Regions from separate parts of the Homo sapiens genome. Here region 1 is linked to region 2. The links are contacts of gene promoters, found by promoter capture Hi-C in blood cells and fetal thymus (Javierre and others, 2016). All regions are on one chromosome and are shown on one strand. Each heading gives the region's core, a stretch centred on a gene start or on the middle of the fragment in contact. The rest is flanking DNA. Distances are from core to core; before and after follow the strand shown. Region 1 overlaps HEBP2 (heme binding protein 2). Region 2 holds the start of CCDC28A (coiled-coil domain containing 28A).

What was found. Contacts are between HindIII fragments. The CHiCAGO score rates a contact against its expected background, and 5 or more counts as called.
Region 1: a fragment that was not itself captured here is called in contact with the fragment with the promoter of CCDC28A in region 2 in 1 of 17 cell types (endothelial precursors); the score reaches 5.5 in endothelial precursors.

Annotation. Positions count from the first base shown.
Region 1 is chr6:138,418,307-138,425,893 of GRCh38, reverse strand. It overlaps HEBP2 (heme binding protein 2), which reads right to left. Exons shown (of 4, transcript NM_014320.3): 4 at 3,697-7,587. It overlaps NHSL1 (NHS like 1), which reads left to right. Exons shown (of 8, transcript NM_001144060.2): 8 at 1,078-3,851. The coding sequence ends at 1,813. Among named protein-coding and RNA genes, the nearest start is that of MIR3145, 13 kb to the left of the region's middle. The HindIII fragment of the contact is 5,714 bases long and covers 2,192-7,587 here.
Region 2 is chr6:138,769,368-138,776,079 of GRCh38, reverse strand. CCDC28A (coiled-coil domain containing 28A) reads right to left here and starts at 2,311. Exons shown (of 6, transcript NM_015439.3): 1 at 2,178-2,311; 2 at 1. CCDC28A-AS1 (CCDC28A antisense RNA 1) reads left to right here and starts at 2,377. Exons shown (of 3, transcript NR_161205.1): 1 at 2,377-2,565. RefSeq lists enhancers at 1,999-2,058, 2,419-2,478, 2,499-2,548, 1,912-2,585, 2,586-3,260. The HindIII fragment of the contact is 8,118 bases long and covers 409-6,712 here.

The sequences.
Region 1 (7,587 bases), core at 3,799-6,298, 350 kb after region 2:
TGAGTCGATCATGAAGCAGGGTCTGGCATGGAGGGTTCGCCTTTGTTTTCTGGAAGGCTGGATTTTAGAAGTTGGCACATGGTCCTGGAAGAGCTGAGGAAGACTGGTCTGACGGCAACTTCTAGAATAACTGAGAATGTGAAGCTGAGGAGTTGTTCTAGGACCTGGAGTGGGGTACATCTTAGTACAGGGGATATTCTGGCATGGAACAAGAAAAGGAAGCATAGAAAGAAAGGAGGGTCAGCATGTGAAATTCACTCCGGATCAGCCCGTCTAGGAGAGATCAAGGAAAACTGGCCATTATTAAAACTTTTGGTCCTGTCCAAAGTAAGTTAATAGTGTCTAAGATTTGTTTCAAATAGGGAGGGTGGAGACAAAAGAAGGGTGACCGTAATTAATGATTATCATAGGTGAGTTATGGGCTCATGCGGTCTTGCAGTGAGCTGTTCTCTTTTGTGTGGGTGTTTGAAATTTTCCAAAGTTAAAAATAAATTATTTGCCAGGCACAGTGGCTCACGCCTATAATCCCAGCACTTTGGGAGGCCGAGGCAGGCAGATCACCTGAGGTCAGGAGTTTGAGACCAGCCTGGGCAACATGGCAAAACCCCGTCTCTACTAAAAATACAAAAATTAGCTGGGCTGGGCATGGTGGCAGGTGCCTGTAATCCCAGCTACTTGGGAGGCTGAGGCAGGGAGAATCGCTTGAATCCGGGAGGCAGAGGTTGCAATGAGCTGAGATTGCGCTATTGCACTCCAGCCTGAGCGACAGAGTGAGTCTCAAAAAAATAAAATAAATTATGCATTTATTACTTTTTCTTTTTTTTTGAATAGAGATAAGGTCTTACTGTGTTGCCCAGGCTGGTCTCGAACTCCTAAGCTCAAGTGATCCTCCCACCGTGGCCTCCCAAAATGCTGGGATTACAGGTGTGAGCCACTGTGCCCAGTCAAAAATAAATTTTTTGAAAGTGAATCTTAAGTAGATGGTGACCTGAAGATGCGATAAGAGCAGAGTGGTTGTGGCTGACAGCCTGTGGTCCCGTGGGAATTAACCTTTTTCTTAATGTTATTAAATCTCAGATCCAAAAGGAAAGTCCTCGGCCGTAGAGATTCAGATGATGACCACTCCCGAAACCATTCTCCCTCCCCGCCCGTGACACCCACCGGCGCTGCCCCAAGCCTGGCCTCTCCAAAGCAAGTGGGGTCGATTCAGAGAAGCATCCGAAAGAGCAGCACCAGCAGTGACAACTTCAAAGCTCTGCTGCTGAAAAAGGGCAGTCGTTCAGACACCAGCGCCCGCATGTCTGCAGCAGAGATGCTCAAGAACACAGACCCTAGATTCCAGAGGTCGAGGTCAGAGCCTTCCCCAGATGCCCCCGAGAGCCCGTCAAGCTGCTCCCCAAGCAAGAACAGAAGGGCGCAGGAGGAGTGGGCCAAGAACGAAGGCTTGATGCCTCGGAGTCTGTCCTTTTCCGGCCCCAGGTACGGCCGCAGCCGAACGCCGCCTTCTGCCGCCAGCAGCAGGTACAGCATGCGGAACCGGATCCAGAGCAGCCCCATGACCGTCATCTCGGAGGGAGAAGGGGAAGCCGTGGAGCCTGTGGACAGCATAGCCCGCGGGGCTCTGGGCGCTGCGGAGGGATGTTCCCTGGACGGACTGGCGAGGGAGGAGATGGACGAGGGCGGCCTGCTCTGTGGGGAGGGGCCTGCCGCCTCCCTGCAGCCCCAGGCCCCCGGCCCTGTGGATGGGACAGCCAGTGCAGAGGGCAGAGAGCCCTCCCCACAGTGTGGCGGTTCTCTGAGCGAGGAGAGTTAGGGCCAAGAACGTAACTCTCCCAGGTGACACGGGGGGAGACGAGCAATGCAGCACTCTAGGAAGCCTGCTAGGCGCCCTTCCCTGGCTCACCCGGGGAGCCCACTCTGCTTCTGTGCTGTGGGCCCCGGGGTTGCCAGCCCTGCAGTGTGAGTGAACGGTTATTTAGGACTCACCTGGCACTTGCCCTGTGGCTTAAGAACAAGTAGAAGCTTAAACTTCTGAAAGTGCTTCCCGGGGAAGATTTTTTTTTTTTTTTTTTTTTTTTGCTAAATGCTGGGTGTGTATGTGTGCATTTTCCACACTTTTTAATTTTTAAAAAATACACATATACACAAACAACATGTACAGAAATAGAAGAAAGCAAGCCAGACTTAAGCTTGGTAGAGTAACGGAGTCCTCTGGTCTAGGCGGTAATTGCTTTCAGAGAATTACGTTTATAGAAATCAGCGAGTTTTGTAAGAAAGGAGAAGATGTTACTTCAAGAAAGAGGCAGTAGAGTTGCTGGTTCTTAATGCACAGAACACACAGATATATGCACACGTGTGCTGCTGAGGTGAGGCAGGTCTGGTGAGCACGGAGAGGCTGGGAAGGGGCTAAGTGACTAATTGGTTCAGGTACTTTTTTCTGGGGGAGGTAGACTTTGCTTCTTTTTTGTAAAAATGACAAACGTAGAAGTGGCAATGCTGTAACCTGGTGCCTGCTGCTGTGCAGCCACATACACACAATTGTAGCCTGATTTTTAGAAGTGTGGGTAATTTTTTAATGAATTTCCTCCTTGAGTAGCAGCTGAGGTCATTGACAACTGAAGTGATGGTGTGGACATAGAGAGAGGGGAAGGGTTGGAAAGGAGTAAGTGATACACTGCTGGAATTTGTTTCCTGCCTATGAAATAAAATTATTTTTCAGAATTAAATTTGAAAACTTGCACTACAGAACTATGGGTGGAGCTTTTCCTTTTACAACAGTTTTTTTTTTTTTTTTTTTTTAACCAGAGTTTAAACTTCCATTAGGCAATTTCCTGTCACTTGAAATGTCAACATTTGCTAACTTTTGGATATCCTTTTGGTTACACCAAAGAAAAAGTTATGGCTATTTTTTTTTCCTTGAACTGCCTACAGTATCATGTCCTAATTCAGAAAGATTTATCAAAATCTATTATATATTATCTTACTTTGAAGAAAATGCTGAATAGCTCTTGTTAGTCAAATAAACTGATAAAAATTGGTAGGGCCTGGCTATCAATTAGCCCTGGGAAATGAATTTTTAGATTAAAAAGGTTTTTTTGCATCATTTGGTTTGTGCATTTTTATATTTGTTTATAAATAATTGAGTTGCTAATTACTTCTAATCTTCTCCAATCAGATTTTCAACAATTTTAGACATGGGACACACGTGTGTGAAGTCTTTATTTTAATGTAATAATCTCATTACCCCCACCCTTACTCCCTTAACTTCCATGTACTTAGACTCCTTTATTTGTTAAATAAACTAGAGTATTGTCTTCTTCATTAGAAGGACCTAGGATGACAATGCGGAGAGTCTTGGTCTGAATCTAGTGCGACTACCACCTGCCAGCTTTTGGGGGGTATGGAAATACTATCTAAAAGTTGGACTGCATGGGTCAAATCATTATGAGACTTATAAACTAAAACTTTAGATACCCATATAGAAATGTCTTTGAGGCAAAAACAAACCTAAAGAATGAAGGCTCTTTCCCTTCTCTGAAAAAAACAAAACACTGCTCTTCACACAACCGGAAGTCAAGACCAGAGATTTGGAGCAATTGTCTACTAATTTGGCACAAAGATCGTTTCTTTAGAAAAGTGGCATTGGCTTTTGAATATGAAATCTTCTCATAGCTGCCTAAAAAAGACTAGAATGTATATGGATATCAGAAACCTTTAATAATACATAATTTATGCAAAGATAAGATAAAGCAACATAACACTAATTATAAAACTATTTTTAAATCCCCATTTTTAATGAAAAATATACATTTGTATTTAATTTCCTTTGAATAAAACAATTGTAAAGTAAATATTTGAAATATTTCTTTTTGTTTATACATGCATTTTTTTTGAATAATGAGATAGGTGTTCTTATACAGAATTGTTGAGTGTTTTGCTGGATACAAACAGAAAAGCAGTGAGACCAGAAGGTCTCTGGGGGAGGTGACAACCCAACAGAGGAGGTGGAACATCACAGACACTGGATGGCACCATCTACAAGGGCACGTGGAAAAACAAGTCCACATCGTGTCCTATGGACTTTGGAATAAAATACGAATAACCTATCGCCTGGCGGTTCAGATGACGTGGCATGTGGAGAGACGTGAGAACTTCTTACAGGCATGGATGAAATACAGGGAGAGAAGAATCGAGACTCATCCCTGAAACATGGCACCTTCCATGTGGCTACTCTACTCCTTGGGGCCCGCTTCTGTTATGGACCGCATCTTAAAAAGCTCCACAGGGGTAGATCTGATGGCTCTCATACCCTCATACTTTAAGTTCCAGATAATCACAGAAGCCCCAGCCCTAAATTATTTCCACTTTATTTTTACTATCAGTGGGGAGAGAAACAAATTACTGCTTGGTCTGTCAGTTGGAAACAACCTCAATGCGATCTGCTTTCTGCCATCCTACTATTTCTGAAGAATCTTGATTGAACTCTTGCTTTTCCTGTGGGGGTGACTGTATATTCCTTAGGAGAATCACAGTGAAAAGGAGACGTTTCTGTGTCTCCGTCTTTCTCCCCACCCACCACTGGCACCCTGCTCTGTGGTGGCATCTTAGGAGGAGAGGGGAAAGAGTGGCTTTCTTGGTTCTGCCGTAGTAGGGGTTCAGCCTGCATGCGATGCTGATTCCATCATCAAATGAGCACAGCAGCATAATTTGCTTTGGCAGATGTGAGGATGTTGTTGGGGGAATGGAGGGTCATTTGAATGAAACATGGACCTGATTGTTGCGCCACTTTCCTTAATAAGCCACTCGGTAACTGTAATACAGTTTCTCTCAGTTGCCTGCTCTGACCTACCTTCCACAGCGGCCAGCCTTTATTCACAGAACAAGAGGTAGAGCAATCTGTAGTCATTTGTTCAGCAATGGGGGAAAAAAAGTCCTAATAAATGCTTCTCATGTGCTAGGTAAAGACAAGGAGGCCCAAAGATAGAAAACGTGGTTGAGCTATCAGTGAGGGGCATGATCCTACTGCCAGTTTAGATTCTTCAAGAAGTAGACAGTTAGAATACCAAAGGATTTATTATTGGAGTAAGCACCTTTGAAAGGAAAAGAGGAAGCAGGACGAGGCAGGGAGAGCAGGCGAGCTGCCATCCCAGGGGAACTCTGGGAAAAAGGTCACTCATTGGAGGAGTCCTGTGTTGGACTGAAACAGTTAGGTCCTTGTACCATGGCCTTGCTTGGTCTTTGGCAAGAGGGCCCCCTCAGAAAAGCATGCTCTCAATTTCCATAATTTAGTGAAATCATTGGCCACCAACCCCTCCTGTCTTGAGAATAGCGTGACCTCAGCTTGAAAGCTAAGGTGGATCCTGGTGAAGTAGCAGCTGGTGGCTGCCAGCTACCCACACTCCTTGCAGCTGGATGGCATATCTTGTCTTGAAGGGGGATCTAAGTGGCACCGCTCTATGCCTGCCATGGTCCACCCCTTGCCTATGTGGATCCATTTTCCCAAAAACACGCAGAGAGTGACTGTTTCAGGGCGCCAATGGACCTCTCTTCCTGAGGATAAATGTTGAAAGAGGAGTTTGGTAGGACCAACTATAGCACCTTCCTGCAAATGGTTTTGGAACCACAACTGGTCCTCATTACTCCCTGCTTCATTCTAAATTCCCCTCACCCACAACTGTCATCTTTGCTGGTCTTGGTGGCTTTTTTGATAGTATAAACCAAGCTCTCATTCCTGAGGGTCCTGAGCTCCTGGGAGCCAAACCCTTCTCAGACCAGGGTTGCTGCACTAGTCCATTCAGTTACAACTGGGCAAGGAGTACAGAGGGTGCCTCCAGTGGGTCCGCTAAGTTCCACACACATTGCTCTCGCCACTATCCTCTGACAGCAGGCTTGCCTCCTCCTGCAGTTCAGGGTCAATTACCCTTGACTAGATGGTGACTTCTTGCCTACTGGTCCCTGAACACAGAGTCCAAAGTGCCCACATAGTAGCAGCAGACTGTAGTTCAATGGGATTCTTGCAATATTGCCTAGAGAAGGTATACAGTCTCTGAGAACTAGGACTTCTGATGCTGTAGAACCTGGAGTTGTGGGCATGGGAAGTACTAAGTCCCTCAGTGGTTCGTTGGGTGCGATGGTAAGTGGGGTCACTCCTGCCTCCACTCCTTGGTTCTGAAATCTATATATTCCTGTTGTAGACACAGCATCATACAGGCTTTCTGATTCAATAAGTATACTGTGTGCAGGAGACGGTGGCACATCTTGGCAGGGTATTGTCTCCCACCTGGCACTAAAGCAGGCCATGCCAACATTCCATCAGTCTAGCAGCTTCTAGGTGGCGCAGTATGTGATAGGAGCAGTGGATCCTATGACCGCTGGCGAACTCTCCCTGATTGGGTGTTAACATGTATAGATCACGTATTCAGCAAATCTACGCTGACAGTTCAGATGTTTTGTAAGTCCTTAGATTGTGTTCAGGACCCTGTAGGCCCGAAAGGAACCACATACCTAGAATAGGAAGTCTGTCCTTGTGTGAATAAACTGCTGGTGCTTCTAGGAAAGAATGAGCCTACCATAGTGAATTTGCTATCAAGCGACCAGTTGGTCTTCACAGCCTCATCAGGGTCTCAGCATTGGTATTTGTTGCAGGCAGGTTGGATAGTCACAGTGAGCAGTGTCTAAGTTGGCCTTGGTAAGTGGGAGCCCATGTTGGTGGGTTCCATCCATAGCCTCCATCTTTGCCACCACTGCCACTTTATGTGTGCATTTTACCAGCACTGAGGTGGGCACTGGCAAAAGCTAATAGAACAGGCTAAGTCATTTCATCTACTTGGTTGTTTAGTGCCTCTTCTCTGGTGGGTGCTATCTAGTGGGCATTAACATGTGATACAGTTTTTCAACTTCTGTGTTCACTCCATATGCCCATCCACATGCCTCTACCCCAGACCTCCTAATCCATGTTTTTTTCCTCCCAAACTCCTGATCAGCTGGCAGGCCATTTTCTGCCACTTCCATAAATATTTTACCTGTCCTCCCTCACAAGGTGAATGATCCAGTGTACCTCAAAAAATTCTGCCCAGTTTTTGCAGGAAGATTGCAATTTTTTTCCCGTTTTTCAATGTCACCTTTGAGTGAAGGTCCATTTTCAGCTTGCAACTACAGAAGATAACTAATCAATAAACCAAGCCCAAGCATTCCTCTTCCTTCAGTGGATCATACAGGTCCTCCAACAACCACAGGGAGGGGGGATGTAGGTGCCACTGTGCAGACATGGCGGTTGGAGTAATTGCTCTTGCAGTTTGCTTATGTCCTCTGGTCTGGCTTGGAACTGCTCCTGTACATATCATTTCCATCTTCCAATGGGCTGCTGCCGATCCTACTAGCTTATGACTTAGTGCTTCCCACAGGACCTAGTTAAGATGAGCAGTTCTGGATACAGCATCACTGGGTCTCAAAGTTCCGTGTCTACCAGGGCCCAGTAGCACAGCAGAGGCTGTTTTTCAAAAAGCATATGATCCTCTCCTGTGGTTAGAACCACCTTCCTTCAGGGCCCCAGGGACCTGCACTGTGATTCTCTCATTGGGCCTTGTC
Region 2 (6,712 bases), core at 1,062-3,561:
CCTAAATAAGGAATACAGCAATTATATATGTATGCTATAATATGCAAACATGAAAGAAATTCAAAGACCCATTTCACAGGGTCAAAAGAGGATCAAGAATTCCAGAGGGCATAAGAGAAAGTTAGAAAATGGGTCTCTTAAGTTTAATGTACTCTACTATGTACCCATAAGCCCCTAGCAAAATTGTCTGGTAGACAGTTTTTGTTTTGTTTTGTTTTACCATTTTCTTTATTTCTTCATCCTACAAATATTTACTGATTCTCTTCCACAAGCCAGACACTATTGTGGGTACTGGAGAGACGGCACTGAACAAGGTGTTTGACCTCAAGAAGCCTACATTTTACAAGGGGAACAACATATAAACAATAAACAAATGATCCACATAATATTCCCAGCCTGATTCAAGCTTCAGGTGGCCTTTAGGTCTTTCTTCCAAAATGTATGCTTAAGAAGAACCAAGTAGATTCAAACAGATGTATAATTGTCATAGGGATTTTACTAGCATTTTAAAAATCAACTAGAAGCCTTACTTCAACTACTAAACAGAAACTCAGTTTCTAGCTAGGGCTAATAATGATTCTAGCTTGGTGATAAGTGAAGTTCTAGAAAATCAAACTTGTTCGTTGCCTATTTTGAATATACTTTCTCTAACCATTTCCAAACAAACGTGAATTTTATGATATATATTTAGTTTTGCCCATATCAAAAAAGTTAACAATGTGAAGTTACAGATGGCCCTTCCATGCGGAATACGTGTAAGGCCTCCTAGTTATCCCTACACAATCCCCTTACTTTATCTATTAATCCGCTCTATTTTCTAACATCCATCTATTTAAAAAATACCCTTCCGGCCGGGCTCACGCCTGTAATCCCAGCACTTTGGAAGGCCAAGGCGGGCGGATCACGAGGTCAGGAGATCGAGACCATCCTGGCTAACACGGTGAAACCCCGTCTCTACTAAAAATACAAAAAATTAGCCGGGAGTGGTGGCGGGCGCCTGTAGTCCCAGCTACTCAGGAGGCTGAGGCAGGACAATGGCATGAACCCGGGAGGCGGAGCTTGCCCTGAGCCGAGATGGTGCCACTGCGACAGAGCGAGACTCCGTCTCAAAAACAAAACAAAACAAAACAAAACAAAACAAAAAAACCCCTTCCATACTTTATTTGTGCATAGTGTTAAATTTTTCTTAACTTCATTATTTCATATATCATAAGATGAATTTATATGGCTATCTCTACCTCATCAGGTTGTAAATTGCCTTCTAGAAACATTAGGCCGTTTTTGGCATGCTGTGTTTAATTTAGGCATGCCATGACCATTCAAAAAGATTCAAACCCATTGCTGTCGCTTAAAATAATTATTTGATGAATTCAATAAATTTTTCTTTTTCCTTTTGCCTGGACTTAGTGCCACTGGCACTGGAATTTAAACCACTGAGCTTAAATTGGCTGACGCTAGACAATTACAACTGGAGCTACAATACTGCCAAAGAAGAGGCTTTCTGGGAAAGGCTCCAATGCCCAGTCTCTAATCCCAGATACCACTGGGTGTCAATCCACTTAAACCTTGGCTAACAATTTTTCTTTTAAGAAGCATTTTTTGTAACAGAACAATAATTCTGGTGTTGTTTCAACATGCAACACAAATTAAATGAGAGTTTGAAAGATGACTGAATAGAGACGATTAGTTCTCTGAAGAGGCAAGGATCTGTAAAAATGTATGATACGCATAAACACGCTGGCCTGAAATTTAACGATGCTAATACACACTTGGTGGTACAAGAAAAAAAAATCTAGGAAGTAAAGCAATGCAAATAAACCAGTGGTGGTCTAAACCACAATATTCTGCGGAGCCAGCACTCGCGATTTCCTCGTTTTTGGAAAATTACATCTGTCACAAGAGCACTGAAACCCTTCCTGTATATCAAACAGCAAAGAATGTTTTAGAGAAGGCATAATAAGTAAACTGCTCATAGTTACTTATTCACACAGTGGTTTTAAGTGCCAGGTCTTGCCTCCAAGCAGTACCACTGGGCATCCCTCTTGACATCACCTCATTCCCCTTCCCCAATCTACCGAAGCGATGACCCTTCACCGCCCAGTACCCAGCAGTGACCAGAGTGGTGGGAAGGGCCTAAAGGGGCAGGTTGCGGAGGTTCCTTTGCTTCCACTACATACCTGAAGAAGAAGGGTATTGGGGCCCCCTTCCGCAACCCGCAAAGACCCGACAGCCTCAGAAGCCACCGCCGCAGCCACAAGCAGAGCCCCGGTCACATCCCGGGACCCGCTCCTCCGCAGCTCCGTTTGTTTACGGAAGTGACGTAAGAGGTACAGCCTCCATGCCCCAAGCGGAAGCCCCGCCTTTTCCTGCTCCCCCAGTGTCGCTCTTGGCTCCGCCCTCGGCATTTCATTGCTTCCCCTGTCCTTCCTTTAGCTGTAACTCCGGCGGGCGTGTTGGGTGTGTCGTTTTAGGCTCTGTGACCCAGGAGCAAGACGCAATAAGCGGGTGCAGTGGAGGTAGAAACGGGAAATGCAGTACCCTTTCCGGAAGCTACTCCGCCCCTCGGTGAGTGTTAGATTCCCCCCCCGAACTACAATTCCCAGAATGCTGTTCGAGCATGCCCGAAGGCGGAACCAGAGTGTCGCCATGCAACTGTTCCTTGGTTGTTTCCGATTGGTTGCCCGGACTTCTCGCGGCTAAACTAATTTTGGCTCCAAGGCGGCGTGAAGAGTGTGATTCTGTTCAGCGACCGTGATTCTGTTCAGCGACCATGATGTTGAGCCCCTAATTGAGAGTCTGTTACCACTATTAATAGCTACTCTGTTCGGGCCCTACACATAACGGTGTATCTAAACCTCTCTACAATTTTATGGGTAGGTGTTATACTCTCTGTTTTACAAATGGGGAATTTGAGGCTCAGAAAGGCTAATTGATGCAGGTGTCTCTCTGTCGTCAAAGATAGTTCTACTTCCACTATACTTAAAGCCTCTGGAGAAGGAATTGCAGGCTGAGAGAAAGAGATCTATCTTAAATGAGGGAAGAAATGCACGTTTCATTGCCTGGTCTGGGTAGCCTTCCCGGTGTTGGAGTGGGAGGTGGGAAGGTTTTAGATTCACAGGTCCTTAGATTGAAGGGACTCTGGAGGAACACCACATAGCACCCCCCGCATTAGCTAATGGGGAAACCATATCTAGAGATTGTATCCATGCCAGAAAAGGCAGAGCAAAGACAACCCCAGTCTCTTGGCTTCTAGGATAGGATGTTCTTCCGCCACCCGCCATTTAAAAAAAAAAAACAAAACTATTGAAATGTTAAAAAAAAAAAGCACAGAATAAACAACGCACCCACTATCCAGAACGAACAGATTTATGAATGAAAGAAATGGAGCATTACAGATAAAGAAGGTGTTCCCTATTCTCAGTCCCATTCTACTACCACCCTCAGAGAGGCAACCAGGATCATGAATTTGATATGTATCTTGCCAATCTAGGTTTCTATATTTAAACTATTACTATGTATTATAAACAATATGTAGAATGGTTTGGGGCATTTGAAGTTTTACATGAATGCTATTATATTTTGTGTATTGATCTGCAACTTGATTTTTTCACCAAATTCTGTGTTTTTGAGAGCTATCCACATTGATAAATATAGCTAGACTTTATCAAATAGATTTGTCACAAATTATTTGGGAATTCCCATAGTGATGGATGTTTAGGTTGTTTCCCATTTTTCACCATTACAAACACTACTGTACAGTCTGCTCAATATCTTTTCCCAGTTTCTCCTTTTAATTAATGTCGAATTGTCTTATTTGTATGAACAGAGCTTGCAACTGGTGATTCACATGCTACTTTTTTTTTTTTCAAATTGGTTGCTAACAGCTAAAATTGAAAGAATAAAAACAATGTGGCATCCCATGAATTAACGGGAAGATCTGACTACGTTAGATGTGCATTGTAGCCTGGCAACAATGGTTCAAGCTGGAAAGCATCTGCCTCCTTTACCTCAGTTCAAGTAATATCTAGTTTTTCTTTGTCTTTAGTACCCATCTGAGCCCTGTAGCATTTGTGTTTACAACCTCCAACATGATGTAGGGACACAGGAAAGTACCCTTCTAAATGGACATGTTTCAGGTATTCAGAAATAGGTATTCAGGTTTTGAATACCTATTTTAAGTCCCTATTTTAGCCACACCCTGTGATAGGAGGTCAGGATGCATCTATCAACAAAAGGTACAAGAGCTTTATAGTCAGAGATCTTATATTCCCGATATAAGAGACTGACAATAAATTAGTATGCAAATAAAATAGTTTCATTTAGTCAGATGAGAGTCCTGAAATAACAGCTTAAGGTCAAAAGTAGTTTGTACTGAAGGAGAAGTATCAGGGAAGGCCTTCCCGAAAATGCAGCTTTGAGGTAGAGATATGAATAAAGTGCATGAGCCAGCCATGGAATGATCTGAGGAAAATGAGTCCTTGAGTGCCAGGCACGGTGGCTTTTGCCTGTAATCCAGCACTTTGGGAGGCTGAGGCAGACAAATAGCTTGAACCTAAGAGCTGGAGACCAGCCTAGGCAACATAGCAAAACCCTGTCTTTACAAGAAATACAAAAATTAGCTGGGCATGGTGATGCAGGCCTGTAGTCCCAGCTGCTTGAGTGGCTGAAGTGGGAGGATCACCTGAACCCAGGAGGTCAAGGCTGCAGTTAGCCATGATCATGTCACTGTGCTCCAGCCTGGGTTACAAAATGAGACCCTGTCTCAAAAAAATAAAAAAAAAATAAGAAGGAGAAGGAGAAGAAAAGAAGCATTCTTGAATAGAACATACGGCTAAAATGCAGGCCATTAGGCAAAATGAACTTTAACATGTTTGAGGAAGCAGAGGGTTAGTGAGGTGAATTGTACTGGGCTAGGGACAGAGTGACGCAAGATAGAGTTGTTGTAGAGGTACAGTTTCAAGTGTGATTTCTTTAATCTAAAATCTAGAGTTCCTCCCTGAGAGAAATGATCTTTCAGATTTTCTAGATTTTCCTTTAATTCCTTTAAACTGTAAGCATCCATTCTTTGGATTAACTGTTAAATGCAGACCTTGTATAAATTACTCCAATCATATACTTTCTTCCTGAGGATTATATTTAGAGGATGGGAGCTTTGATTAACAAGACCCTTCCCCTGCCTCCCAGTACTCATACATTGTATAGCATAGGTAGGTAAGGAGGAATACTGCTGGCGAATTTCCTAGTAGTGGCAGTGGAGAGCCATTGAGAGAAAAATCTGCTGGGGGCCCAGAAATCTCTATTTAAAAAAAATTTGTCTTATGGAAAATTTCAAACATATACTGAGGAAGACAGAAGACTATAATGAATCCCTCATCCAGCCATTAACCCCTGGCCAATGATGTCGATTATAGCTGTTACCAGTGACGTTGACCCTGATCCTTTATGGAATGGAATTTTTGTTATGTTATTTTTTAGGGTGCTATGAGGATAAGAAAAGAAACAGGCATTTGAGAAGAAAATTATAACCGAATTTATACTTATAAATTTTTGATATCATAATCTCAGGTGATTCACATGGACACGCGTAAACACACCCACAAGTGCAGCTAGAAGTAAATCACCCAGAAACTGTCATTGTCCTTGTACATTGTATATACAATGCAATCATTTCATACCTTGGCCAGAAAACTGTGATTTCTGTCTTGCAAAGCTGTATGTAGTAGATAATGTGATAACCTGTAATATTGATCTGATAAATATGTATTCAGATGAAACCTGTAAAAAAAAAAAGCCCCTCTTCTGACATTTTTCAGTCTCTAGTATTATGTTGAAGTAAATCTCAGATATAATTTAATCCCTAATATTTTAATATAGATTGCTAAAAGATTAAAACTTTTAAAGACTTCACCACAATGCCTTTATGATTCCTAAGCAGCAATGAATGATTAATGTTATTAAATATTCAGTAAGTATTCAAGTTTCCATTCGAATCAGAAGTGTCATAACTTTTTTCACATTTTACTTGAGTCAGGAACCTCTCTTTCTGTAAGGTCCTCAGGTGATGAATGGGTTTGGAAGCCTCTCTTGTACAGCCTCATTAGTTGAGCTACAAACATGCATTGTCCTTTCCCTTCAGAAAGTTAGGGCGCTATGAAAGCAGGAGTCCCCAGCCTCCAGCTGTAGACTGGAACTAGTCCGTGGCCTGTTAGGAACTGGGCCACACAGCAGGAGGTGAGCAGCCAGTGAGGGAGCATTACCACCTGAGCTCCCACCTACTGTCAGATCAGCAGTGGCATGAGATTCTCATAGGAGCCTGAGCCCTAATGTGAACTGCGCATGCAAGGGATCTAGGTGGGCGGTGGTCCTTATGAGAATCTAACGAAAGCCTGATGATCTCAGGTGGAACAGTTTCAGTTTCATCCCCAACCCCCACCCCGCCCCATCCATGGAAAGATTGTTTTCCACTAAACTGGTCCCTGGTGCCAAAAAGATTGGGGACTGTTGCTCTAAAGGGGAAGGCAGGTATCTCAAAGCAAATGGATACTCTCAGTGCCTGAAGCACAGTCATTCCTGTATTGTCCTTTGTGGTTCTTATAGGGAAGAGATGTTTTTTGTTTGTTTCTTGTTTTTGTTTGTTTTTACCCAGAAGCCTATCCATCATTTTCTAAGTGTGCTTCCACTTCCATTTCCCCTGATGCCGGAATGCCTTGGC